3 separate regions of the Homo sapiens genome follow, and all the other regions are linked to region 2. Evidence: promoter capture Hi-C in 16 types of primary human blood cells and fetal thymus (Javierre and others, 2016). All regions are on one chromosome and are shown on one strand. Each heading gives the region's core, a stretch centred on a gene start or on the middle of the fragment in contact. The rest is flanking DNA. Distances are from core to core; before and after follow the strand shown. Region 1 overlaps ATP6V0A1 (ATPase H+ transporting V0 subunit a1). Region 2 holds the start of CAVIN1 (caveolae associated protein 1). Region 3 holds the start of MIR5010 (microRNA 5010).

Region 1 (2,700 bases), core at 80-2,579, 66 kb after region 2:
TGTAGTCCCAGCTACTCTGGAGACTGAGGCAGAAGAATCAAGTGAACCTGGGAGGCGGAGCTTGCAGTGAGCTGAGATTGCGCCACTGCATTCCAGCCTGGGCAACAGAGCGAGACTCTGTCTCAAAAAAAAAAAATAATAATAAAAAATAAATAAATAGTAACATTAATGTCATTTTTATGGCATTTCACCTTCAGAGTTCTTCAATATATTTATTTGTCTTTTAACTTGACAGCACATTTCATACATAGCCTGGCATATAATATGTATATCATAGCGTAGCATAGCATATCTTTATTTTGCATATGTGGAGACTGCAGTTCAGAGAGCTGAAATAATTTGGTCATATGCCCATGATTCTTCAGGGTTGTTCATGGCCAGGGCATCAGTTTCCTGATGCCCTCTCTGTATATGACTGTTTCTGTTTAGTAGTTAATTAGAACAACTACTCTGTCCACAGAAGTGCTGTAAGTGCCTGGAGGAGTACAGAGATGTATAAAACATGCCCTCGAGTATCTTACAGTTTATTAGGAGAGTTCCAACTATGGAGTTGGAAAAAGCTTTAAGCAGGTGGCATTTGATCAGGTCTTTGAAGAATGATAAGTTGTTGGTAAGACTGCTGAATGAAGAGAAGAAAACAAAGGCAGGAAGTATGGTTAGACCATGTATGTTTGGACAAGAACAGGATTTACAGTGGGTTAGCTGAAGAGAAGTACCTGTCTGCATCAGGTAGTTTGGAACTTAATTGTGAAAGGTTCTTAAATAATAGCTTAGAAGATTTAAATTTTATTCCAGAGGAAGTTGAGAGACATTGGAAGTTCTTTAGGGGTAAAGGAACATGATCAAAGCAGTTTGGGTGGTTTTTTACATTTTTAATTTTGTGTTTGAGACAAGATCTTGCTCTGTTACCCAGGCTGGAGTGCAGTGGTGCCATCTCAGCTCACTTCAGCTTCCAACTCCTGGGCTTAAGCAATCCTCCCACTTCAGACTCCCGGTAGCTGGGACTACAGGTGCCCACCATCATGCGTGGCTAATTTTTTGTAGAGACAGGGTTTTGCCATGTTGCCCAGGCTGATCTCAAATTCCTGGGCTCGAGTGATCTGCCTTCCTTGGCCTTCCAAAGTGTTGGGGCCAGGCGTGGTGACTCACTCTTGTAATCCAGCACTTTGGGAGGTTGAGGCGGGTCATCACTTGAGGTCAGGAGTTTGAGACCAGCCTGGCCAACATGACAAAACCCCGTCTCTACTAAAAATACAAAAAAGTTAGCCAGGTATGGTGGTGGGTGCCTGTGATCCCAGCTACTCAGGAGGCTGAGGCAGGAGAACCACTTGAACCCAGGAGGCAGAGGTTGCAGTGAGCTGAGATCATGCCACTGCACTCCAGCCTGGACAGCAGAGTGAGACTCTGTCTCAAAAAAAAAAAAAAAGTGGGTCACCACGCCTGGTGGATCAAAGCAGTTTTTTTGTTTTTTGGTTTTTTTTTTTTTGAGATGGAGTTTTGCTCTTGTTGCCCAGGCTGGAGTGCAGTGGCATGATCTCGGCTCACTGCAACCTCCACCCTCCACCTCCCTGCTTCAAGTGATTCTCCTGCCTCAGCCTCCTGAGTAGCTGGGATTACAGGTGTGCGCCACCACACCCAGCTAATTTTTTGTATTTTTAGTGGAGACGGGGTTTCATCACGTTGACCAAGCTGGTGTCGAACTCCTGACCTCAGGTGATCCACCCGCCTCAGCCTCCCAAAGTGCAGGGATTACAGGCATGAGCCACTTCTCCTGGCTCAAAGCAGTTTTAAAAGAGTAATCTGCTGATAGTATCTAGGTTGGATTGAGGAGTGAAGAGATTCTGTAGGTAGGGGTTCAGTTAGGAGGTTATTGTAGACATAGAGTAGTAAATGATAAGGATCCCCAGGTAGGACTTGACAATGGGAAAAAAAATGATGAATTGTGAGATGTTCTGCAGGAAAAATCAATAGGGCTACCTGGTTCCTAGCAAGGTGCAGGAGAAATACAAGGAGAAAGATTTAAACATCTTTTTGAGGCATCAAAGCTGACTGGCCAGGAGAATTAGGGTTCCAATGAGGGAAGTAAATGTTCAGCCAGAGAAGCTTATTGATTGGGGAGAGATGGTAAGTTCAGTTCCGGGCACATTGAGGTCTATGTGGAAATGTCAAGCAGACAAGGGAACAAAGCTAAGGAAATGGGAGTCATGAGAATGGAAGGGAATGAGACCTCCAAGAGGGAGGTCATAGAGAGAAAAAAAAGGTTGGGGTCTTGCAATGCTATGAGATAGGCAGAGCAGAAATAACCAGCAAAGATAGAAAAGCAATGGTCAGCGAGCAGGAGGAGAACTCCTAAGGAAGAAGGATTTTCACCAAAGATCTCCAATGTCAGGGGCGTGCATGGGGGAGAGAAGCTCTTTGGTCAGGAGCCAGTCACTTTGCCTAAGCATGCTCAGCCAGACTGCAAGGGATCAGGAAGTTAAGAGAAGGTAGTGAAGAAGGAGAGCCAGAGAACATACTTTGCTTTCTCCATGAAAGGGGGAGAACAACTTTCATAAAAAGGCAGATATGGAGGCAGTTCCACATTTTCTTTGGTGACATATTTTAAAGTTAAATTTTTTTCACATTAAGGATGTATTTCAGAGGATCTAATAGAAATCTTCCATTATAAATGTTATACCTTTTCCCAGTTTTCCCAAAAGC
Region 2 (2,700 bases), core at 16-2,515:
GGTGGCCAGGAGCAGAGAGCAGCGAGGGGACAGGGGTGGGCCGCCGAGGCCGATGTGGGGGCGCGGGGGCGCAGGGTCTGGGGAGGAGGTTGGCGGTCGCGTTCCCCGCTTGGCACAGCCCCCGCTGGTGCGTGCCTGAGCCCTGAATCACCCGCTATATCAGGCCCGCAGGCGCAGAGGCCCCAGGCCCGGGCCCCGCAGCCAGTGTCCGCTTACAGCGGACCCCAACGATCGCGAGGGACCCCTGACTTTCCTAGAAACTTCCCCCAAGTAGGAAGAAGTTTGACAGAGCCAATTAGGGAGGGAGCGGTCTGCGAGGGGCAGCGTCCTCGAGTCCACCCGCTAATTCGGTTCTGCTACAAGTTTGGGACCCGAGGGAAGGATCTGAGTGGGGAGGTGCGAGGTGCAGAGCGCGCCCCTCTACGCGCCCCAGGAGTCCGCCGCTCCCTCCACCCCATCCTACCCCACCCAACCCCACCCCAGCCGCGCTCACCGGAAGGAGGGTGGATCTGCCGGGCGCCCGGGCCAGGCTGGGAGGGGAGCAGCGCCACGGGCAGGTCTCCCCACCCCAACTCCCAGGCAGGGGACGCGGGCCGGGCGCGGGAGCTCTGGGCGCCTTCCGCCCTGTGGGCTCACCTGGTAGATCATGACTTTAAAGTTGCGGCGCCGCAGCAGCTCGGCCTCGTTGACCTCCAGCTTCTTGATCTGCCCCGCCTGGCGCTCCAGGCTGCCGCGCACGGTCTTCACGTTGACGCTGACCTTGCGCACCTTCTCCAGCAGCTTGCTCACCGTATTGCTCGTGGTGGCGTGCGCCTTGCCCAGCTTGCTCAGCTCGCCCTGGATGCTCTGCACTGCGCCCTCCATCTCCGCCTGCCGCTCCTCCAGCTGTGCTTGAGTCAGCTGGATCTGGTCTACGGCCCCGATGATTTTGTCCAGGAGGCTCAGCACCAGCACGCCGTTCACCTGGTCCGACTTGATCAGCTCTTCTGAGCCGGCCCCCGACGGCTCCTCCGCTGCCTGAGCCCCAGCGGAGGAAGGCTCCGGGGCCTCGGCGTCGGGGTACCCGGGAAGCGGCCGCTCGACAATATAGAGCGTGGGGTCCTCCATGGCTACCCGGAGCCGTGCGGGACCGGCCGGGTGGGGCTGGAGCTGGAGCGGGAGACCCGGAGAGAAGCAGGAGCGGAAGGGAGGAGAGCTAGCGGGCGAGAGCGGAGAGCAGAGGAAACTCGAGCCACGTCCGTGCGCACCGGGACAGCGGCCAGAACTGCTGGGCGGGGGATCGGTGAGCTCCCCAGCTCCCGGGCCAAACTCCGGAGTCTGATCGCTGATTGGCTGGCCCCACCCCAGAAAGGGAGGGACCGGGGCAGAAGGGGAGATCGACGAGGCGGGGCGGCGGAGGGGGACCCAAGAGCCGAGCGCCCCACCCTTCCCGGGATGGTTGGAATAGTTGGAGCGGGAGACTAGGGCCTCCGCTGGCGGCGGGAGCGGGACGGGCGGAGGAATGCGAGCTGAGGAACGGAATCAGGTTCTAAGAGTGTTGCTCTCTGTTTCCCTCTCACTTGAATTGCTCATCCGAAAATCCTCAAGATCTGGGAGCCGGGTGGACCAGGAGATTCTGAAATTATAGGCAAAATCTTGTATTTGCCTTTACCTAGATTTTGAGCACAAAAGGACCCTTGCCCTTTACAATATTTTCTAAGAGGCCTCTCGGATTTCCTCATCACCAACCCCAACCAGGTTACTAACTCAGGGGTAAGCTTAGGGGGTTGTTTGTGGGGGGCGGGGGGAGAAAGAGAGAACGTATTTGGGGTCACGGTGGTGGTGAAGGGCTGCGAAGCTCCTCTAAGTTCTTTTTAGAATTGCCCTAACAGAGTAGAATTAAGATGGGCAATCAAACGGAAAATAAAGCCCACCTCCCAACCCCCCTTTCTGAGACAGGGTGTCACTCTGTCACCCAGGCTGGAGTGCAGCGGTCTGATCACAGTTCACTGCAGCCTCGACCTCTTGGGCTCAGGCAATCCTCCCACTTCAGCCTCCTGAGTAGATGAGACTATAGGCGCTTGCCACCACGCCCAGCTAATTTCAATTTTTATTTTTTTCAATTTTTATTTTTTTAAGAGACGGGGTGTACACTATTTTGACCAGGCTGGTCTCGAACTCCTGAGCTCAAGTGATCTGCTGGTTTCAGCCTCTCAAAGTGCTGGGAGCCACCGCGCCTGGTGTAAAGCCCTTTTTAAAAGCCCACCTCTCTTAGGCCAGGCGCGGTGGCTCATGCCTGTAATCCCAGCACTTTGGGAGGCCCAGGCGGGTGGATCACGAGGTCAGGAGTTCAAGACCAGCCTGGCCCAAGATGGTGAAACCCCGTCTCTGTTACAAATACAAAAATTAGGCCAGGCGCAGTGGCTCATTTTGGGAGGCGGAGGTGGGTGGATCACCTGAGGTCGGGAGTTCGACCTCAGCCTGACCAACATGGAGAAACCCCATCTCTACTAAAAATACAAAATTAGCCAGGCGTGGTGGCGCATGCCTGTAATCCCAGCTATTCGGGAGGCTGAGGCAGGAGAATCACTTGAACCCGGGGGGCAGAGGTTGCAATGAGCTGAGATTCGCGCCATTGCACTCCAGCCTGAGTGGAATTCTACAGAGTAGAATTCCTCTTTTTTCCAAAAGCTTTTTCAATCCTTAGTAGAAGGAATTTAA
Region 3 (2,700 bases), core at 195-2,694, 91 kb after region 2:
AGCCCAGTGGTCACTGCCCTCCCAGCCCATAGGAGTAGAGATCAGCACTCCTGGGAGCCATGGACTTCTTCCTCTCAATGCGGGCCCTGGGGCGGCAGCCAGCAGTGGTAGGAAAGAGCTCTTAACCACGGTGTTGGGATTTAGGGAACTCAGGGAACTAGGATTACCCTAGTTTTCAGGGTAAGTAAGGAAGCTTGAAGAGCCTGTTCCGGAAGAAAAGCCCAGAAATAGGCTAGGTGTCGACAGAGGTGAGGGAGAAGCAGACGTTCGCCCAGAGATGGCATGGTGGAGCCAGCCCCCTCCACGCTGGCTGCACCCCTGTGGCCTGGGCTGTTGTGGCTTTACCAGCCAAGCCACTTTCTCCCATCCCCATGTTCTCAGTGATTTCCCAAGGCATTTCTGGTGTCCTTTGGGAGTGGAATCACGTGGGTTTTGAAAGGAACTGCGGTGAAAAATAGACCCTGACCTGAGGGCAGGGGCCGATGGGGAGGCCACTGAGCCCTCAGGAGTGTCTGAAAGCTCAGAAGATTCTGGTCTGGGCTCTGCGGGGGGAAGCCCCATAAGGGAGCGCCTCCTGGTCTTTGGTCAGCTTGACAGAGAGGCCCAGGGAAAGTACCTGGGGCTTCCAGAATATACCAAATTCAGAAGCCCACATTCACCCCTGACTGTGCTTGGAGCAAACCTGAAAGTTCACTCCCAAGAGCTTGTTCCAGCCCATTCCTTTATTCTGGAAATAATTCTTGGTATTGAAAGGAAAACTGGGACAAAGGGAGCTTGAGGAAAACGAAAACAAACAAGAAACTGGAGATATGCTATTTAGTCTTAACCCAAACAGATATGCTGTTTGGCCTTAACCCATGTGGAAATTTGTAAACTTTGTCAGGATTTCCCTGTGCATGGTGGTGAAATCATGTAGGGAAAAAAAAATTCACCGTGTAATCTCTTTAGAAGTCACAAAAGAAAAAGAAGGTTATCTTGCTCCCAAAAGGCTGTAAAAAGAATAAGTAAAGTGGCCATAGAGGCCTAGTCTTCTCAGGACAGTGTCCGGGTTGAGAGTCTGTCTCCTGAAGCGCACTCTGGGGAAAATCCCTTCCTGCCCTCCTGCAGGTCCTTAGGGTCCCAGACCCAGACAGTCACTTTCTCAACAGAGTGCCGTCAACTCAGCACACACTCCTCTCTTGAGCACAGAGCCCCAGAGGGAGAAGAACAAATGTGTTGAAAAGAATCTTATTAAGATGTAGTTAATTAAAATGTAATGTATTGAGGGGAATGGAGGTGTCCCAGGTGAGGGCTAAGTCAGGCAGGATTTTTGGGGAAGGCATTGCCGAAATCACCACCTGAGCTCAACACTGGGTGCTTCTGGCCCCTCCAGAGTTGAGGTGCCATCCATGGGAAGTGCAGTCCCCTGCCCTGGCCCAGGTTCAAAGCGCCAAGTAGCCACAACTCAGAATGCCTGCACGTTCCCCTCCTAGCCTTATATCTTCTCTCTGGTTTCCTCCCACGACAGTTTGACTTTGGGGACACCATGGTCCACCAGGCCATCCACACCATCGAGTACTGCCTGGGCTGCATCTCCAACACTGCCTCCTACTTGCGGCTCTGGGCCCTCAGCCTCGCTCATGCGCGTGAGTACCTCTCTCCGGGCTCCGGAACTCTAGTTTCCCCCTCTGTGGGCGCACTGTCAGTTGGGGGGCTTAAGTCAAATGGAAATTACATGAAGGTTCTGGAATTATTCAGGTTCCTGAACCCAAGGAGAATGAGTACAGACAGGAGGCTCAGCACTTGTGCCAGGTTAGCTCTGCATGGTGGTCCCACTAAGGCAGTGGGAAGCCAGGATCCAGGGAACCCTAGAGCAGGGGGATGGCAGAGCAAAATTCATGGCCTACAGCTGCCTCTTGCCAAACTGCACTGGATTTTGTGTCTCCCATTCCCCAGAGCTGTCTGAGGTGCTTTGGACCATGGTGATCCACATCGGCCTGAGCGTGAAGAGCTTGGCGGGAGGTTTGGTGCTGTTCTTCTTCTTCACTGCCTTTGCCACCCTGACCGTGGCCATCCTCCTGATCATGGAGGGCCTCTCGGCCTTTCTCCACGCACTGCGCTTACACTGGTGAGGGGCAGTGGGGCAGGGCGGGCATGGGGGTGGATGTGTCCTTAGCTGCGGTGAGAGGGCAGCTTTTCTCCCACACACAGCCCTGCAGCTCTGTGCAGGAAAGATGAGCTGGCCCTGCACTAGCTTCACCTCAGGACACCCCAGCACCGGCATTGCCACAGAGTTTCGGAAAATGGTCACAGAAAAGCACAGCTCAGCCTTCCCTAGGCTCTAGGGAGATGTCCCTGGTGAGTGGTGTCAGGTCCCGCTCCCTGCCTTTAGCTGTCCCCAGTGCTCCTGATTTTGGCTTAAAGGGGCTGCTGGGGTCTTAGGGTTTCTGGTTTTCTCTCTGATGTGTAACTCTTCTGTCTTCAGAACAGTGGAAGCAGCTCTGGAATGTATGTTAAGTGCAGGAAAGGCTAGAACACGCTGCACCCCAGCTTTATCCTCTTTGTTCTGTCATTGTGCCAGGGGTCTTTGAGTTGGACCCCTGGCAGCTCCATTGTGGACCGGAGGGATTCCTGGCTCTATAGGGTGGAGGTCGGTACACTCACGCAGCTTCTTCACATGGGCAGGTTTGGGGTGGTTCTGTTTGTTTTCTTTAATGAAGC

What was found. Contacts are between HindIII fragments. The CHiCAGO score rates a contact against its expected background, and 5 or more counts as called.
Region 1: a contact is called between a fragment that was not itself captured here and the fragment with the promoter of CAVIN1 in region 2, in 14 of 17 cell types (megakaryocytes, endothelial precursors, M0 macrophages and 11 more). The highest score is 12.2, in megakaryocytes.
Region 3: a fragment that was not itself captured here is called in contact with the fragment with the promoter of CAVIN1 in region 2 in 16 of 17 cell types (endothelial precursors, megakaryocytes, total CD8 T cells and 13 more); the score reaches 26.7 in endothelial precursors.

What each region holds. Positions count from the first base shown.
Region 1 is chr17:42,487,604-42,490,303 of GRCh38, forward strand. All of the region lies in intron 10 of ATP6V0A1 (ATPase H+ transporting V0 subunit a1), which reads left to right. Among named protein-coding and RNA genes, the nearest start is that of MIR548AT, 5.8 kb to the right of the region's middle. The HindIII fragment of the contact is 1,543 bases long and covers 559-2,101 here.
Region 2 is chr17:42,421,991-42,424,690 of GRCh38, forward strand. CAVIN1 (caveolae associated protein 1) reads right to left here and starts at 1,266. Exons shown (of 2, transcript NM_012232.6): 1 at 637-1,266. The coding sequence starts at 1,107. LOC102725238 (a long non-coding RNA gene) reads left to right here and starts at 1,198. Exons shown (of 4, transcript XR_007065758.1): 1 at 1,198-1,282. The HindIII fragment of the contact is 2,664 bases long and covers 1-1,755 here.
Region 3 is chr17:42,512,354-42,515,053 of GRCh38, forward strand. ATP6V0A1 (ATPase H+ transporting V0 subunit a1) reads left to right here. Exons shown (of 22, transcript NM_001130021.3): 20 at 1,508-1,625; 21 at 1,936-2,107. It overlaps MIR5010 (microRNA 5010), which reads left to right and starts at 1,835; the gene lies at 1,835-1,954. The HindIII fragment of the contact is 2,506 bases long and covers 192-2,697 here.